2 separate regions of the Homo sapiens genome follow, and region 2 is linked to region 1. Evidence: promoter capture Hi-C in 16 types of primary human blood cells and fetal thymus (Javierre and others, 2016). All regions are on one chromosome and are shown on one strand. The core of a region is centred on a gene start or on the middle of the fragment in contact, and the rest is flanking DNA. Distances in the headings are between cores, read along the strand shown.

Region 1 (3,800 bases), core at 322-2,821:
TACACGCGTATGAGAGAGCAGAGCGGCAGCGACGCGGTCGGATCGGTCGCGGGGGCTGCGGGAGGAAGCGCTGCAGGGACCCGGGCGGCGCCGGCGGCCTAGCCGGAGATGCACGCGCTGTAATAGACCGCGCTGCTGGCGTCCGACAGCGCGGAGATCAGGCTGCTCTCCTCTGGGCAGGACATGGCGCGCGGGCCCAGTTTGGCCAGTGCCACGTGGTACGGGAGCCCGGGGGCGTCGGGCCGAGTCCGGCTGCAGTTGAGGTACTGGTCGAACTCGGTGAGGTCCACGTCGGCCCACAGATCGGCGGCGGGCCCCAGCGGCTCGGCGCTCTCCAGCGGCGGGGCCTCGGGCGGCGGCGACAGCGGGCCGGGGTACGGGCCGGGCGTGCCCAGGGTGCCGTAGTACAGGCCAGCGAGCGGCGCCGCGGGGGGCGCGGTCCTGAGCGCCTCCGCCAGGGGAGCCCCGTAGCAACCGCCGGGGTCCCGCGACAACTCGGTGGGCGCGTAGGGCGCGCGGAAGGGCCGCAGCGCGCAGTCCTCGGGCGCCGCGGGCGGTGGGAAGAAGGCAGCCTCGCCGGGCTCCAGGCCGTCCAGAGGCGAGCGCTCGGGCGTGGGCAGCCCCAGGCCGTCGAACTCGGCGCCCAGCGGGGGCAGCTCGCGGAAGGCGCGAGCCGAGCCAGACGCCGCGGGGAAAGGCTCGGGCGGTGGCTGCGGGGGCGCTAATCCCGGGAGCAGGAGGCCGGGCTCCAGCCGCCGGGCCTTGCGCGCCTGCTTCTTGCGGCGCGGCCGGTACTTGTAGTTGGGGTGGTCGCGCAAGTGCTGCACGCGCAGCCGTTCGGCTTCCTCCACGAAGGGCCGCTTCTCCGCCGCGTTCAGCTCCTTCCACGCTTTGCCTGCGGGCCGTGGGCGCCAGTGAGTGGAACGCCGTCGGGCGGGTGGGCGCCGAGCCCTCCGTGCGCCCGGGACGCCCCGCGAGGGTTTGGCGCAGCCCCCGCACCCCGCGGCCCGGGACCCCTGCCCCCCCCGCCCCACCCCGGCCCGAGCCCCCCCCGCCCTCTCCCCCTTCTCTGCCGCCCTCCCGCCGCTCACCCAGCATCTTGCTGAGCACCGCGTTGTGCAGGTCCGGGTTCTGCTGAGCCAGCCGCTTGCGCTCGTCCTTTGCCCACACCATGAAGGCGTTCATGGGCCGCCGGATGCGCGACTCGTCTGCCGCCTGGCGTTCCCCGCGGCCGGCCGGGCTGAGGCCATAGCGCCCCGGCTCGGGGCTGCGCGGGGGACTGCGCTGCGGGCTGGGCGGCGAGGCGGGCGCGGCGGGCGCGGCGAGGGCGGCGGGGCCGGCGGCGAGGCCGCGCGTGTCAGCGGCGGCCCCGTGTCCCGGGGCCCATGCACAGTCGCGGCGGGCGGGCGGGTCGTCCTGTGCGCCGTAGCCGGGCGGCGATCTCTGCATTCCAGCTGGGCGCGGCCTGGGCGGAACGGAGCGCGGGAGCGCGGCGGGCGGGCGGCGGGCACTGGGGAGCCGGGCGCAAGGGCAGGCCAGGCCGGGAGGGCGGATGGCGGTGGGGACGGCGGTGGCCTCGGGCCGGGCGGGCGCCCAGATATAGCGGCTCAGGGCCAATCGGCGGCGGGGCGGGCGGGCGGGGGCGGGTCGGGGCCGCCTCCTCCCCGGGGGCTCCCTTTCTTCTCAGGCCGGGCGGGATTCCGCTGAGGCCTCCCCCGCGCACAGCCCCCCCACCTCCCCCGCGACCTCTCAGAAGGAGAGACCCCCCGGGTGGGAAAGAAAGGGCTGCTGATGAGGGCCGGTGCTGCCAGACTTTCGGAGGCGAGCTGCCACCCACCCACGGAGTCGGACCCCCGGGCAGTAACTGGGGGAGGGCGGCAGTGTCCCGCTGGTTGCCGTTCCCCGCCCCCCGCTGGGAGGCTCCATGGGGAGGAGAGGGCCCTTTTTCACACCAAGTTCTGGGGAGGCTGCCTTCCCAACAGCCGGTAAGTCCTTCCTGGAGTGCAGCGCCTTCAGAAAAGGCCCCGTCTTTGGGGAGGCGCTCTGAGTCCCCAGGGGCGCCCATGCTGGAAACTCTACACCCATGTGTAACCGTCAGCACCAGGGACTTTGAGTGCCTTTATGGGACAAGATGGTCTTCTGTCCTCACTCCCAAACCAACTCTGGCACAAGGCAAAGCTGACACAGGGAGGGAGAGAGCAGAGGCCCTGGACGGAGCCCACAAAGAGAAGGGGGAGCAGGGACGCAGAGGCTGTGGCGTCCTCCCTGCCCCCCAAGGGCCCTTGGGGAAGGGGCTGGGACCCTCAGTGGCTTGCTGGCTCCCCTGCCCAGCCCAGGCCACCGCTGCAGCAAGAGGCAGGGCCTACCTGGGTCCTTCCCACTGGCCCCTCCCTGGACCCTCTGACCTGGGCGGGGGCGGGTTCCGGAGGAGCGTCCAGCTTCCTGAATTTTCACTGTCCCCTTCCTACTCCATCAGGAGGGGATCTGGGCTCCAGAGCTGAGGGTCTCCCTCTGGAGGTCCTCCCCTCCCACTGCCACGCATGGTTCTACTGGAGAAGGGTTGGGTGTCCCCAGCAGCCCTCCAGGCAGGGTCAGAATCTCGCCACCTCGCGGCACATCTCCTCATAGCCTGGAGGCTCCCCAGCTCCCCCCGCCACACTATGCCGGGAGCCCCATGGGTAGAGGCCACAGGTCTTGTGACCCTGAGCCTGTGTGGCCAGAAGCTCTTGGTTCTCTGTCCCTGCCAGCCTCGCTAGGCCACATCCAGCCTGTGTTATGAATGGGGTGGGCCCCACGTGGGCCTTGCAGTGCCCCTTAGAGGCTGTTCCTGAACTGTCCCCAGGGGCACTCCTGCCCTGAGGCCAGCACCCCCACAGGGGCACTCCCACCGAGGGCTGTCGCGGTCGGTGTCCAGCCCTCCCCAAAGCCCCACATCACAGTCTGTCTCGACGCCCATCGTCCCAGCATACGGGGCTGGGTCTCCCAGTCTGGTCTCCAGATCTCCCGTCCCTCCAGTTTGCCCCACGGGCCTAGCACCTCGTTCACAGACACTGAGCCAGTGCTGGCTAATGGGGGGCCCGTGGGGCACCAGGAGGTGCGGCCCCTGGCTTTTCTGGGGAGGCAGGCAGGGTTGTGGCCACAGGGATGGAGGGGCTCACAGGCCTCTGCCGGATGCTGCTAGTCCTCCTTTAATCTCAGTATGGGTGGCTGGACCCTTGGCCGAGTCTCAGTGTGGGTGGGCCTCCTGGGCAGCTGGCAGGAGGGTGCAGGGGGGGTGGGGAGCCGTGCGAAGACCCCAAAGGGCTACCACTTGGCGGAAGCTCTCTCTACTCACAACCTTAGGGTTGCAGTCAGGGGTCACCAGGGCCTGGCTCAGCCTGGGCAGTGGCTGGTCACTGCGGCCTGGGAAAGAGGTCCTCGGGGTCCTCTGCAGTAGCCCTCACACGTGGGGAAGGATTTGCAGTTCCCTGGGGGCCCTGCTTGGTCCTCTGCCACCCCCGAGAGCCCAGAGTCACTGGAGCTGCTCTAAACATAGTGGCAGGCAGTGTCCGGCATGACCTCATCGCCTCCACGTCCCCCACAACACCCACCAGCAGCCGCCTTGCCTGGCGCCAGCCAGTGACCCACCCTCTTGGCTGGGCTGTGGACTCAGGTGTCCGGCTGTCATGTCCTGTGAGTCGGGGCTGGGCGGGGAGCCTCCTGAGGTGCTCCTCTCCCTCTGCGTGGCAGGGAGGAGGCTGGCAGCCCTGGCCCAGTGTCCAGATGGGACAAAGTGGGGGTAGGGACCACAGCCAGGGTGG
Region 2 (4,231 bases), core at 1,298-3,797, 540 kb before region 1:
AAGGGCCCACTAAAGCAGAGCTCCCTTCCTGGGCCCCACCCAAGGTCCCATCTCCTCTCCTATGTAGCCGGCACCAGGTTCAAGGGGGATCTCTCAAGGTGGGAAATTGCCCTGGGGAACCTGAAGTTCATTAGCAGCTCTGGAGGCCCTGTTTTCACCTCTTTGAATAGCCCTTCCCTCAATTAGGCAGCTGGGAATCTTATGAAGGGAATAACAGGACCCTGCCTGCACCCTGGGGATGAGCCTCCCAGGGGCTGCCGCCCACCATCGCCTCCCACAGAGATTCAGAGCCTCCCCACCCCTGGAGGGACCTCCCCACACGGCCAGGAACCGAGCAGCTGGGCCAGGGCAGGAGGAAGGGCAGGGAGAACACAGAGGGGACGTCTGCCTTTTTAAAGACGTGACTTTGAGCATACATAGAGAAAAGTGACACACTGCAAATGTGCCTGATGAGTTATCACCAGGAAAACACACCCAGACCAAGAAACAACATTCCCTCCTGCCCCTCGGTAAAGGTGACTTCTGACAGCACAGATCACGTTTGCCTGTTTTTAAACTTTATATAAAGGGAACACAATGCACAGTGTGTATCCTTTTGTGTGGCTTCTTTCACACACGACCGTGTCTGTGAGATGCCTCCATGCCGTCCCGTGCAGCAGGCATTTGTTCATTTTCATCACTGTACTGCATTCCACTTCCAGTTCTGAACGACTACAAATAAAGCTGCTACGAACACTTGTGTGCGTCTCTCTTGTGCGGGTGTACCTGCTCAGTACACACCCCAGGATGTTTCAGCCACATGATAGGTGCATTATGCCAACCACTAGTTTATTGTCTTTTGGCTCGAAATTTAACCTTCAATACCTGCTCCACAGCAGTGGACAGAATTACTTTAAGCATTTCTCCTTTACACTGGGCAGATTCATTTTTTTTCTTTTCTTTTTTTCTGAGACAGGGTCTCACTCTGTCCCCCAGGCTGTAGAGTAGTGGCACAATCATGGTTCACCACAGCTTCGGCCTCCCAGGCTCAAGCGATCCTCCCACCTCAGCCTCCCAAGTATTTGGGACTACAGGTACACACCACCACGCCCAGCTAATTTTTGTATTTTTTATAGAGATAGGGTCTTGCCATGTTGCCTAGGCTGGTCTCCAACTCATGGGCTCAAGTGATCCACCCGCCTTCGTCTCCCAAAGCCCTGGGATTACAGACGCGAACCACTGCACCCAGCTGAGATTCACTTTTTTGAGGAAGGCAATAAAGGGTGAATTTGCAGCTGGAAATAAATCAATTGATAATTGGCTTTTACCCCTTGAGCGTGGGTTGCATTGTCCTGTTTCTTCGTGTGTCTAGTGATTTTTGACTGAATACTGAACATCATGTGGAGAGTCTACTCTGCTTCCTCCTCTGAAGCTGTCGGTGTTTGCTTTGCAGGTTGGTTCACTGCTGGGCCCTGTGGACTTGTTCTCATGCTTTGTCAGTGTCGATGTCGAAAGCCCAAAGTGTTTCCCAAGTCCTGCTACCTTGGTAAGACTCAACCCTCAATCTCAGTCTCCCCTGCAGATCTCTGTGGGGCTTGGTCTGAACTTTCGTTAGGTGAGTGTGGAGTAGGCATTATTGTACATTGTAGTCCTTTCTCCTCAAAAAAAAAAAAAAAAAGTAAGGTCTCTCCACTCTAGCCAGGTCCAAATGCCAAATGCCAATGCCGCCCAAGTCTCTCCACTCTGGCCAGGTCCAAATGCCAAATGCCAAAATACTGCCCGACACAGCTTGTCCTCTACTATCTTTGTTCTGCTCTAACCTGGGTGGATACAACCTCAGGTAATCCCTGGTGAGTCGCAGCCTTGAGTACTTTCCTCCGAGAAACACTACGGTTTGTGTCCAGCCCATAGAACACAGAAAGGTGATAAGTCACTCTGTGATTGGCTGCATCATTCCAGGCTCTGTCCTGGGGGACGGAGCAGCAAGACACCCCTGCTGTCTGTGAAGATATGGCTGTTGGAAGGCATGGGAGGGGCCTCGTATCAGGGAACCAGTGAGTGGCCCCAGGCTGCCAGCCAACAAGAAAGCAGGGACCTCAGTCCTACAGCCACAAGGAACTGAATTCTGCCAACAACCACGTGGCCTTCAAAGAGGACCTCAAGCTTCAGAAAGAAATACCAACACCTTGGTGGCACTCTTGAAACCCCGAGCCACCCAGCGGAATTGTGTGTGGGCTCCTGACCCCCCAAAACTGAGAATAAATGCATGTTTTTTAAAGCTACTAAATCGGTGTTGATTGGTTATGCAGTGACGGATAACAGCACAGGGCCTATAGTCACTGCTCTCTGGTGAGCCTCCGGCACCTCCTCACCCTCAGCCACAGGCTTGCAGAGGTCCCAAGCACTCCCCACCAGCAACATGCACACCTAAGCCCCTCACTCCAGTCTCTGCCTCTCATCCCAGGGGGACTGCCGTGCTCTGCCTGGAGCCCTGCTTGTGGGGTTATGGCCAAGGAGAGCCGGGAGTGTGGGCGCCTCCAAGCACCCTCTCGGTCTTGTGCTGTCCTCACCCCACTGCCTGAAGAGAGCAGCGCACGAATTTTGTCTGGTCTCAGAGTCGTTTCTGGAGGGAGACGTACCTGGCAGCAGCTACTCCCCCGCAACTGGAAGCAGCGGTTGACTCCACATCAATACAAAGACAAGGTTACTTCAGTCTTTTTACTTTTATATTTTATTGTTTTACTATTTTCACGGTATATACATTGGGCCTGTCTTTTTAAAAATCTTTTATGACACTGAAACTTTTGAAGAATGCAAACCGGTTGTTTTGTAGATTGTCCCCGCATTGAGCGTTCCTGACATTTCTGCATGAACAGATTGGCACCAAGAGCCAGGCATCCTTCCCAGCACTCGGGACGCTGGCTGCCCACCAGCGGCAACGGTACCTTTGATCCTCTGGTTAAACTGGCATCCACAAGCTTCTCACAGTAAAGTTACCACTTTGCCCTTTGTAACTGATAAGTAAGCCGGGCACGGTGGCTGACACCTGTAATCCCAGCACTTTGGGAGGCCAAGGCGGGTGGATCACTTGAGCCCAGGAGTTCAAGACCAGCCCGGCCAAAATGGTGAAACCCCATCCCTACTAAAAATTCAAAAATTAGCCAGGTATGGTGGCACATGCCGGTATTCCCAGCTACTCAGGAGGCTGAGTCACGAGAATCGCTGGATCCCGGGAGGCAGAGGTTGCAGTAGCCAAGATCATGCCACTGCACTCCAGCCTGGGTGACAGAGTGAGTGAGAATCTGTCTCAAAAAAAACCCTGAAAATTAACAAGGAAGTACTTTTGATACTGGTGGCCAGGGGAGGTCCCCAAATGCGAATGGGACCTTGACCCAGGCCAGTGTCCTGCCTCTTAACACCATCACAAAACGAATTCAAGGATGAGTTAAAAAATAATGAAAGTAGAGATTTATTGCAAAGCAAAAAGTACACCCTCCAGAAAGCAGAGTGTGGCTGGGTGTGAAGGCTCACGCCTGTAATCCTAACACATTGGGAGGCTGAGGCAGGAGTTCGAGATCAGCCTGGGCAACATAGTGAGACCCTGCCTCATAAAAATAAACAAGCAAATAGAAAAAAAAGTCAAAGAAGAAAGGGGAGTATGGGTGTTCTCAAGAAAGTGAGTCGTGAGGCAGGGTTTGGGGCCCCTACCTTTAATGGGTTTCTTTAACCAAGGAGTGGAATATTCATAAAGATTTCTGGAAAAAGGTGAAGATTTCTAGGAACTGTGGTGCCACCCTTTTTTACACCAAATATGTGTGTTCCTGGAACTGTCATGGCACTGCCGAGTGTGATTTGTGTGTTGATGAGCATATAATTAGGTCACCGGTGAAACCCAGGTCAAGTCCGCTGCCATGTGGGTCCAGTCGTCTCGGCCAGCGTGGCCCAGTGGGTCCAGTCATCTTGTCCAGCTCGGCCCAGTGGGTCCAGTAGTCTCGGCCCAGCTCGGCCCAGTGGGTCCAGTCGTCTCGGCCAGCGTGGCCCAGTGGGTCCAGTCATCTTGTCCAGCTCGGCCCAGTGGGTCCAGTCGTCTCGGCTCAGCTCGGCCCAGTGGGTCCAGTCGTCTCGGCCAGCGTGGCCCAGTGGGTCCAGTTGTCTCGGCTCAGCGTGGCCCAGTGGGTCCAGTCCTCTTGGCCCAGCTCGGCCCAGTGGGTCCAGTCGTCTCGGCCCAGCTCAGCCCAGTGGGTCCAGTCGT

What was found. The method cuts DNA at HindIII sites, captures the fragments that hold promoters and counts their contacts. A CHiCAGO score of 5 or more calls a contact.
Region 2: a fragment that was not itself captured here is called in contact with the fragment with the promoter of SOX18 in region 1 in 2 of 17 cell types (monocytes and naive B cells); the score reaches 5.7 in monocytes.

The regions. Positions count from the first base shown.
Region 1 is chr20:64,048,068-64,051,867 of GRCh38, forward strand. It overlaps SOX18 (SRY-box transcription factor 18), which reads right to left and starts at 1,572. Exons shown (of 2, transcript NM_018419.3): 1 at 1,092-1,572; 2 at 1-895. The coding sequence starts at 1,449. The coding sequence ends at 99. RefSeq lists a silencer at 1,262-1,311, an enhancer at 1,443-2,124 and promoters at 1,449-2,557, 1,452-2,349, 1,452-1,712. The HindIII fragment of the contact is 12,409 bases long and covers 1-3,800 here.
Region 2 is chr20:63,503,472-63,507,702 of GRCh38, forward strand. It overlaps LOC105372725 (a long non-coding RNA gene), which reads left to right. Exons shown (of 3, transcript XR_937004.3): 2 at 1,433-1,525; 3 at 1,884-2,261. Among named protein-coding and RNA genes, the nearest start is that of EEF1A2, 6.5 kb to the left of the region's middle. The HindIII fragment of the contact is 815 bases long and covers 2,141-2,955 here.